2 separate regions of the Homo sapiens genome follow, and region 1 is linked to region 2. The links are contacts of gene promoters, found by promoter capture Hi-C in human tissues and cell types (Jung and others, 2019). All regions are on one chromosome and are shown on one strand. The core of a region is centred on a gene start or on the middle of the fragment in contact, and the rest is flanking DNA. Distances in the headings are between cores, read along the strand shown. Region 1 has its middle 50 kb from the start of C16orf82. Region 2 holds the start of HS3ST4 (heparan sulfate-glucosamine 3-sulfotransferase 4).

Region 1 (4,879 bases), core at 646-3,145, 1.4 Mb before region 2:
ATTGATAAAGACTAGCAGTGTTAGACTTTTAGGGAGGTGTTAAAGACATATTATCACCAAGCTGAGACTTTCTCATAATTATGAGGCTTTTGAGATAATTGATCTGGGAAGAATTTTCTCATTACGCAGCTCAATGTTTTTTAACGCTTTATTTATTTTCACCAAAAATTATCGTATTTACCATCTAAAATTGTGTTCCATTATGGGTCTGTGTCTGTGGTAGAGAAAATTATTGCTCTCAAAATATCCACCGTCTTCTCTAAGTTTCTCAACTTCCTTTGCAGATGGTTGGGATCATGTGACTTCTTCTGGGCACTGGCTGGTGAGTGCTACTATTGGGCTGTGGCAGTGAAGTGCCGTTTCACTGCTGGGCTGTGGCAGTGTAATGCTAGTGGGCTTTTTCCAGCTCCCTTTTGCATTCCATCCTCCTCCTTGCATTCCAGATATCACAGCCATAGGGACACCTGGACTCTACATGAGTGAGAAATACATTTACTGTGCCAAAGCACTGAGATTTCAGGTTAATTTGTTACTGCAGCATAGTCCAGGGGCACCCAATCTTTTGGCTTCCCTGGGCCACATTGGAAGAACTGTCTTGGGCCACACATAAAATACACTAACACTAATGATGGCTGATAAGCTAAAAAAAAAAAAAAAGCGCCATGCATAAATCTCATAATGTTTTATGAAAGTTTTTGAATTTGTGTTGGGCCACATTCAAAGCCATTCTGGGCTGCATGTGGCCTGCAGGCTGCAGGCTGGACAAGCTTGGTTTAAGCTATTCTGACTGTTGTGAACATGTGGCCCCCACTTGGGAAATATTATCTTTGAAAAACTTTTTTTTTTTTTTTTTTTTTTGAAATGGAGTCTCATTCTCTTGCCCAGGCTGGAGTGCAGTGGTGCTATCTCAGCTCACTGCAACCTCTGCCCTCTGGGTTCAAGCAATTCTCCTGCCTCAGCCTCTCAAGTAGCTGGGATTACAGGTGCACGCCACCATGCCCGCCTAACTTTTGTATTTTTGGTAGAAATGGAGTTTTGCCATGTTGACCATGCTGGTCTCGAACTCCTGACCTCAAGTGATTTGCCCGCCTCAGCTTCCCAAAGTGCTGAGATTACAGGCGTGAACCACCACGCCCGGCCTTTCTTTGAAAAACTTTTGACTAATGTTGGGCCTTCTCAGTTGGGACCCTTATTTCCTTTCTCCTACTCTCCTCCCTTACTGTTTCCTATTCTTCTTCCTTCTCTCTTCCTCCTCCCCTCCCCATGCATTCAGCTAATTCCGTCTCTGATTACCCAACATCACTCTGGGCTCTGCTGGAAGACTCAGAGCCTATAAAGCTTCAGAGGGGCCTCAGTGTTATTTTAGTCAGGCAAACTCCACAGGTAGGAGTTACTTCTCCACACCTCTGACAGTGTCACTTGCATACCTGCAGGAATAGGAAACTCGCTTCCTTTCATGGTAGTCCTTTCCATCACTGGGCAGCTCCATCTAAGAGGCACTTTCTCTTGTGATTAATCAGACAACATTTACACCCCCAGTCATTTCTACTCTTCCCCATGCAGAGTTCTTGCAGAATAGCTGTCCCTGATAAGGACAGCCCTTCCGAGGCCCAGGAAGAAGTCTCAAGGCTTCTCAGGCTCATTCAAGTCGCAAGACACACACACACCCAATGGAGGATTCTGGCAACGTACCATGTGGTAGAAATGTCAGTCCACATCTCAGGTGCATGGGAAATATCACTCTCTTTATTCATTCACTTCACACTATGGTTGGGATGTTTGTCTCCTCCAAATCTCATGTTGAAATGTGATTCCCAATGTTAAAGGTGGTGCCTAGTGGGAAATGGGGGCAGATCCCTCATGAATGTCTTGGTGCCCTCCTGGTGGTAATGAGTGAGTTCTCATTCTATTCATGTGAGATCTGGCCGTTAAAAATTTAGAGCCTGGGAAAGATGGTGACCAGAGGCTGCGAAGGGTAGTGGGGGGTGCCGGTTGGTGGCGGGGAGGAGTTGGGAAGGCTAATGAGTACAAAAATAGTTAGAAAGAATGAATAAGGGCCAGGTGCAGTGGCTCATGGCTGTAATCCCAGCACTTTGGGAGGCCAAGGCGGGTGGATCACTTGAGGTCAGGAATTCAAGACCAGCCTTGCCAACATAGTGAAACCCCATCTCCACTAAAAATACAAAAATTAGCCAGGTGTGGTGGTGGGTGCCTGTAGCTCCAGCTACTCAGGAGGCTGATGCAGGAGAATCACTTGAACCTGGGAGGAGGAGGTTGTAGTGAGCTGAGGTCATGCCACTGCATTCCAGCCTGGGCAACAGAGCGAGACTTCATCTCAAAAAAAAAAAAAAAAAAAAAAAAAAAGGAGAATTAGACCTAGTATTTGATAGATTTGATAGCACAACAGTGTGACTATGGTCAATAATAATTTAATTACACATTTATAAATAACTAAAAGAGTGTAATTGGCTTGTTTGTAACACAAAGGATAAATGCTTCCAATGATGGATCCCCCGTTTACCTTGATAGGATTATTATGCATTGCCTGCCTGTATCAAAATCTCTCATGTACCCCATAAATATATACACTACTATGTACCCACAAAAGTTGAAAAATTAAAGGAAGAATAGAGTCTAGGACCTCCCATGTCTCTCTTGCTCCCTCTCATCATGTGACACGTTGGCTCCTCTTCCTCTCTGCCATGATTAAAAGCTTCCTGAGGCCTCACCAGAAACTGAGCAGATGCTGGCACCATGCTTGCACAGCCTGCAGAACCTTGAGCCAAATAAACCTCCTTTCTTTTAATAAATTACCCAGCCTCAGGTATTCCTTTACAGCAATGCAAAATGGACTAACAAAGTTCATAACCATGTTTAATTTGTGTCCATTCTTCCAATCAATTTAGGTTTCCTTACATTCCTTGGGGTTACCCCTAAGTTCGGCAGGGGCGGAGGTCAGGGTGTTGGGGAGGGGACATCCATGATTTTCTGAGATTCTCAGCCAGTCTTTGACGTCAGGCCATGCGTGCTGCTGTGGCGCTGTGTATAACTGCATCCAAGTCTGAGGGATGCTCCTTGCTGCCCTCGAATGCCAACTCCTGGGTGCATTGAGATCAGGTGGGTGCCCATGCTAAGTTCAATGAGATGCACTGGGAAGTTACTGAGCTTTTCTTTCCTTTTCTTTTTCTTTTCTTCCTTTTTTTTTTTCTTGTTTTTTTTGAGGCGGAGTCTCACTCTATCGCCTAGGCTGGAGTGCAGTGGCATCATCTCGGCTCACTGCAACCTCCACCTCCCAGGTTCAAGTGATTCTCCTGCCGCAGCCTCCTGAATAGCCGGGATTACAGGGATGCGCCACCATGCCCAGCTAATTTTTGTCTTTTTAGTGGAGAGGGGGTTTCACCACATTAGCCAGGCTGGTCTCAAACTCCTGACCTCAGGTGATCCACCTGCCTCAGCCTCCCAAAATGTTGGGATTACAGGCATGAACCACCACGCCCAGACAATTACTGAATTTTTCTGAACCCTCCTGAGTCCTTCACCACGTCCACATTGCTCTTACACGCCTGGGACTCCTGCACTGCTCCACACCAGCTTGTGCATGGAGAGCTCTGGAAGCCTCTCCCAGCTACATTAGTCTAGGCACCGCCCCTACCTTCACAGGTCCACCTTCCTCTCCTGATTGGGCTTCAGCCTGGGTGGGGAAGACCCGGGACCCTTTCCCAGGGACCCTTCAGCATCTCATTCTCTTTGCTGCTCTTCAAATCCCTGGCATGGGGCAGGGCAGTGCTGGCTGCCTTACGTGCCTGGGTCTCATTGCTCCTTTCCACGACCCCAGTATGTTGGGTTCCATTTGGGTTTCCTTTTTAATAGATGGCGGAACTGAGGGCCAGAGAGGCAATGGGCATAGCAGAGCCAGGAGTGAAACCCAGGTGTGTCTGAGCCCTGTGCCAAAGCTCTTTCATCAGCACCCAGCTACTTCTCAGGAAGCACAACTGGGGATGTTACTGAAGTGCGAGAATTTGTGGACCCTGAGAGGTGATGTGGAGAGATTTGAGGCAAGAAAGGCCTGATCATAACCTGGAAAAGAGACCCCAGGGCACCCTCTGCCTTCAGGGGTTCCAGAGTGAGTGTCCTCACTCTCTCCAGAGTGAACATAAAGCTTTTTTTAATTCCACAAATATTTATCAAGACCCCTTATGTTCACTACTGCCAGGACTACAGCAGTGAACAAAAAGACTAGTGGAAAAAAAGACTGCCCTTGTGTAAGTAACTCTTTTTTTTTCAAAAGACAAGATCTCACTCTGTTACCCAGGCTGGGAATACAGTGGTGAGATCATAGCTCACTGTAGCCTCCAGCTCCTGGGCTCAAACAATCCTCCCACCTCAACCTCCCATGCAGCTGGGACTACAGGCACACACCACCATGCCTGGCTAATCTTTTTTTTTTTTTTTTGTATTGTTGTAGAGATGGGGTTGTGCTATATTGCCCAGACTGGTCTCAAACTCCTGGGCTCAAGCAATCCTTCTGCCTAAGCCTCCCGAAGCACTGGGATTATAGATGTGAGCCACCATGATGCTTGGCCAGAATCAACATTGCTATAGGTATAAACAGAAACAAACCCACAAAGAACTGAAGAGGTTAATTCTGGATTGGTTATCAGTCAAGTGAAGGATATGGATGAGTGTGTGTGACAGGTGGTCAGGGAAAGCCTCCCTGAAGAGTGACATTTGGGCTGAGACCAGCTGCATAAAGATCTGGGAACAGTGTCCCAAGGTAGATGGAACAGAAAATATGTGGCACTAACGAGGCCACAGGCTTGGTGCAGCTGAGGGACAGAAAGGAGCCAGGTATGGCCAGAGCATAGCAAAGGAGCTGGAA
Region 2 (4,853 bases), core at 1,699-4,198:
AAAACACCCCCGGCCCTCTGTTTCCAGCTGCCACAAACCCAAACACCTCAGATCTTGGAAAGATTTGATCTTTCTGCCTCCCTGAAGGGGCATTTGACAATTCTCATAATTCTAAAATTAGAATTGGAAAAAAAAAAAACGCAATTACCCTCATAAGGCCAAAGCTACTCCACAGAAGAAACCAGAACATTCCTACAACCAGCAATTAAACAACTAAAACCTTCCCAGACATCGTGCCCCTTCTTTATTTTGCTGTTGCTGCATTAATCATCCTAACACCTTTTTAATTATAATCACAAACTGGAAGCCATGGCTTCTGATGTTATAAATACTGATTTTCCAGTTAAATTAGGCATTTGCTGTTTTATGTTTTGATAGGAAGGGGCTGTTTGAAGCCTCCTAAAATACTGCAATTAGTTCTCTCTGTTGAAACAGACAAGACGTTAACAGACACATTTGCTGCTTCCCTGTAATGTGCTGGAATGTTTATGACTAAGTGTACTTCTCTCAAGCTTTTAAAGCATAAGGCATATTTTTAAAAGTGGAAGAAATCAATCATAATGCACACATTTATTATGTATTTCTTCAGTTAAGTTATTTCTAAAACTTTCCCAGGCTGTAATTTAAACCTAGAAAGCACATCTCCTCAACGGGCAGGCAACCTGTCAGAGAAACAATCTTGATTTTACCTATTGGCTCTGCTAAGATGATAACATCACTTCAGCTGACAAAGGCTGTGTTTCTGTTTGACATTTGCAATTAATTACCGAAATGCAATGGAGATGCAGCCAGCCATGCAGATCTGTTTCCCAGAAAGATATAAAACAGGAGGAAAGAGAGAAAGAGAAACAACAAAGGCGAAGGAGGTTTGCGTTTGGGGCATCTGCACCAGTGCCGTTTAAAATGTTATGGCTGGCAGGAAAGCTGGATTATTAATTTATTTTACCTGCACTTAACTTTCTAGTCCTCTCTCCTACCTTTCTCTCACCACCGGCAGACGGTGGGAAAGGAGGGAGATGAACATCTCACAAGACAGAAGCTCCAATCTGTTGCGAAGGAGGCGGAGATTAGACAGGGCACGGTCTGAGGCATAAAAACTCTCAGGGCACCAACTGTCATGCAGACATTGAGGCTTCTGGTGCAAAATCAACTCCGTGCTCATTCAGCCAAGGGGGATGGAAAGTTACGGAGGTGGGAGGCATCCTTTCTTTACTAGAAAGCCAAAACGCCAGCATGATCTTTGTAACTGTTCCCTATTCATTTTGCTCTGACCTTAACACACTAAAGTTGAATTCCAGCCACGCAAATGCGTTTGAGGGTGATTTTAAGAGATTCCAGGGGACCTCAAATCCCCTTAGTCAATTTAGCCATCCTGTCTCACTCCTCAAAGTCCTCTGCCCAGAATCCCAGAACCCCGCAAGAGCCTGGTTTCGGAAACACCCAGCAGGCAGGAGGGCTGGGGGTTCCCAGGCTTGGAGCTGGGCAGATTCAGACAGCACCTCCTTGGATGAGGAGCGCGGGAGGCAGGGCAGGGTGACACCTCCTCCCCTCGCCCTGAAATAAAGTGACCTTTCGCTGGAGTCCAGCCCTCTCAGCCGATCCCCCTGAGCAACGCCGCCAGGGTTTGCAGAGCCCTCGCGGGGGCTTGGGCCTCTCGGGACGGTGCCTGGATGCTCGAAGGGCGTGGAAAGCCGCGGCTTCCCCTCCGCGTCTCCCCCACGCGTCTCCACCAGCCCGCGGAGCCCAGGGTCCTACCTGTACCACTCCAACCCCTTTTCGTAGTTCCTGTCGAAGAAGTGCGGCTCTACGCCCACCGCCCGCACGTCCGGGTGCACGCGGATCGCCTCCAGCAGCGCGCGGGTCCCTCCTTTCTTGACCCCGATGATGAGCGCCTGTGGCAGCTTCTTCTCCCCATAGTCGGGGGTGCTGACGGCGCCGCCCCTCTCGCTGCTCCCGTTGGCCGCTCTCCGGCCTGCGAGATCCTCGTCGGTGGTGCTGGACTCCTGCGCTTCCCTCTCCGGCAGCGCGCTCTGAGCCGTGATCATCTCGCTGGGGGCCAGCGGGGTCCGGAGCCAGGCGTCCTGGGCGCCTCCGCCGCCGCTCGGCAGCCCCCAGCCGTCGGTCCCGGGGGCGGCTGGCTGCTCTGGGGGCTCGGGCGGCTCCCCGTGGCTCGCGTTGTCCAGCGGCGGCGGCGCGGGCGGCTGCGAGGGGGCGCCGAGGCGCACGGGGGTAGGCAGCAGAGAGGGTGGCGGCGGGCTCGGCGGGGGCTCGGCGGCGGCGCCCGGCGACTCCTGCAGCGCCAGAGGGAATTGCAGGGAGCCCGAGCCGCCCAGGAGGCTGTAGCACAGGTAGGTGACAGACAGGGACAAGGTGCACATAAAAAGCAGCTTGCGCGCCGGCGGCCCCTTAGCAGAGGCGCCGGGCGGCGGCGGCGCGGCCAGAGGTGGAGGCGGAGGCGGAGGCGGAGGAGGTGCGGGCCACCGGGCCATCGCGGCTCCCGGCTCGCGGCGGCGGCGGCGGCGGCGGCAGCCCCCGGCGCTGCCCGGACATGGTTTCAGCCGCCGCCCCCGCCGCCGCCGCCGCCGCCGCCGCCGCCGCCGCTGCCCAGCCGCCCCGGCTGCATGAAGCGACGCCGCTGCGCCCCCGGCCCTGGCCGCTGTCCCGCTGCGCCAGGGGGGAGCCCGGCCGCATGGCCCCCCGCCCCACGCTGCCCGCCGAGTCCGGGTGGCCCCCCCACCACCGCCCCCCCCTCAGCCTCAGGCAAGGGGACCGAGGGGGGCGCGCGGACCCGCCGGCGGCACCTGCTCCGTCTGCAGCGCCCCCGCTTCCCCGGCTCCGCCGCGGCTTCTGCTTCAGCCTCTGCCGCCGCCGCCGCGCGCTGTTGCAGCCCGGAGTTCCTTCCCCGCTGCTAACTTTCTGCCGGGAGAGAGGAGAGGCGCGGAGGGGAGGAGGAGGGGGCCGGGCGCGCGCCCGGCGCCGCCGAGGGAAGGGGGGTGCGCCTCGCGCGCGCCTGCGAAGGGGGCGGGGGAGCGGAGGCGTGCGCTAGGGCTGGGGCACCCGGGAGAACGGAGATCGTGCCCCCCAGCCCCCAGCACGCACGCACTTGGGGTGTTCCCCACCCCACCTCGTTTACTCCCCTCCCTTGGGAGCTCGGGACGCCGTGTTCTCCATTCCTTTGCCCCAGTACTTTTAGAGAGGTAAAGCCCAACGCCTGCCTCCGGTGCCGCGCACCGGGAGCTGGAAGACAGCGGGTGACGAAGCTCTCGCTTCCGCTTTTCCTCTGGGACTCCAACTCAGCCCATCCCCGACCCTCCCTTCTCTCGCCCGGGATATCCTCCTGCCTTCGGTCCAGGAGTGAATCCTTTTCTACAACCGCTTTCCCATCCCAACTTCCATCTTTCCAGCCACCGCCCCCCGCCCCCCATCTTCTCTTGAAGCTCCTGATGGGTGGAGCTTTGACACAAGCCCCCAGGTTTCCCAGCCCCAGAGCTTTTCCCTCTGTCCCATCACCAGGTGACAACACTTTCTGCTTCAAGAGATGAGGCTGCCCCTCCTCGACACCCTTAATCACAGGTGCACACACCTGCGCCTCTTCGGGGGCATTGCCACTAACGGAGTTCATGGTTTCCTGGACTGAAATAGTGTGGGACCACTGTCGCTCTGAACACCTAATAAGCGGAGACAAGCTGGGTTGCTGGGTGTCTGTGCATCGGCTCGCTGAAATTTTTTAAGTGTATTTTCTTTGCAGAGAGATCTCCACCCCTCACCTCCCTCTCCTGGGGGAACATGGTAAACATCAGAAGGCTTTGGAAGATTCACAACTAGACTTTGCTTCCTGTTGCATTTTGCTCAGGGAAGTGAGGGAAATGGGAGAAAGAGACAGAGTGATCAACTGAGGCACTCCAACAAACTCAGCTTTCTGCAACCGGGGCTGGCTCTGCACAGAGCTCTGCCAGGTGCCTCCTGGGGGTGGCTCTAGTGAGTACCATTTGCCCCCCAGCCACAGCTGGGTGCCTGACGGGGCTGCTTTTCCCTTGTTGGCTGCTGTGGCTGGCATCTCTGGTTTTGTTTGATCACGTAATAGGAAAACCAGTTGAAAGAAAATGTATATAATGTCTAAATATTAACGAGATACCTAGTGCCAAAGAGAAAAAAAATGTTAATCAAATAAGATAAAGAACACGGACTTTTCCCTGAGTGAACAAAAGCTCACTGCTGCTCTCAGCTGGACACGAGTTTCCTTCACTGCAGCTTTAGTTCAGATAAAGATTATTCTTTTATAATATATTTTTTATGGTACACTGGAGACCTCTGAAATGCAGAGTCTGGTGTCCTGTAAATCATTCTGTGTAACTAGGGATGCTTTTTCAAACAGCACACAACTGCATTACTGTAATGTCAATGGGAAGGGGCCAACTGGAACGGAGAGAAACACAAGCACTGCCCAGCCCTCCCTGTGCTCCGAGCCATGATCCAAGGTGGTCATCTAGGAAGCCTGGGTTGCAACAGATATTGCCTTGTCAGCGACCAGTCTCCCTTTCAAGGCCCAGGCACTAGATGTCTGGCATATGGCCCAGGTCCTCCTTGCAGTTCCTGCCTAGCACCCAAACTTTTCTATCTCCCCTCTCAGCAATCCAAACGAATCTGCTCCATGCCCAGTTTTACTAAAGATGGGCTCTCAAATTTCGAAAGGTTTTGGTAAAAAGGTATCAAAACCGATGGTGGCAAATGGAGCTCTGAATGTGGCCAGCACAGTGACATTAAGAAATGTAAACTGGCTGCAATAGTTTAAACTGGGGGCTTTCCCAAAAAAGGAAAAAAAAAAAACACCTTGGAGAGGACGTTACTGTTGA

The links. The method cuts DNA at HindIII sites, captures the fragments that hold promoters and counts their contacts. A contact is called where the count stands out against the background at its distance.
Region 1: a fragment that was not itself captured here is called in contact with the fragment with the promoter of HS3ST4 in region 2 in 1 of the 25 tissues and cell types used here (dorsolateral prefrontal cortex).

Annotation. Positions count from the first base shown.
Region 1 is chr16:27,114,156-27,119,034 of GRCh38, reverse strand. No RefSeq gene overlaps it. Among named protein-coding and RNA genes, the nearest start is that of C16orf82, 50 kb to the right of the region's middle. The HindIII fragment of the contact is 3,082 bases long and covers 355-3,436 here.
Region 2 is chr16:25,690,054-25,694,906 of GRCh38, reverse strand. It overlaps HS3ST4 (heparan sulfate-glucosamine 3-sulfotransferase 4), which reads right to left and starts at 2,948. Exons shown (of 2, transcript NM_006040.3): 1 at 1,756-2,948. The coding sequence starts at 2,489. RefSeq lists enhancers at 1,203-1,703, 1,704-2,204. The HindIII fragment of the contact is 9,278 bases long and covers 39-4,853 here.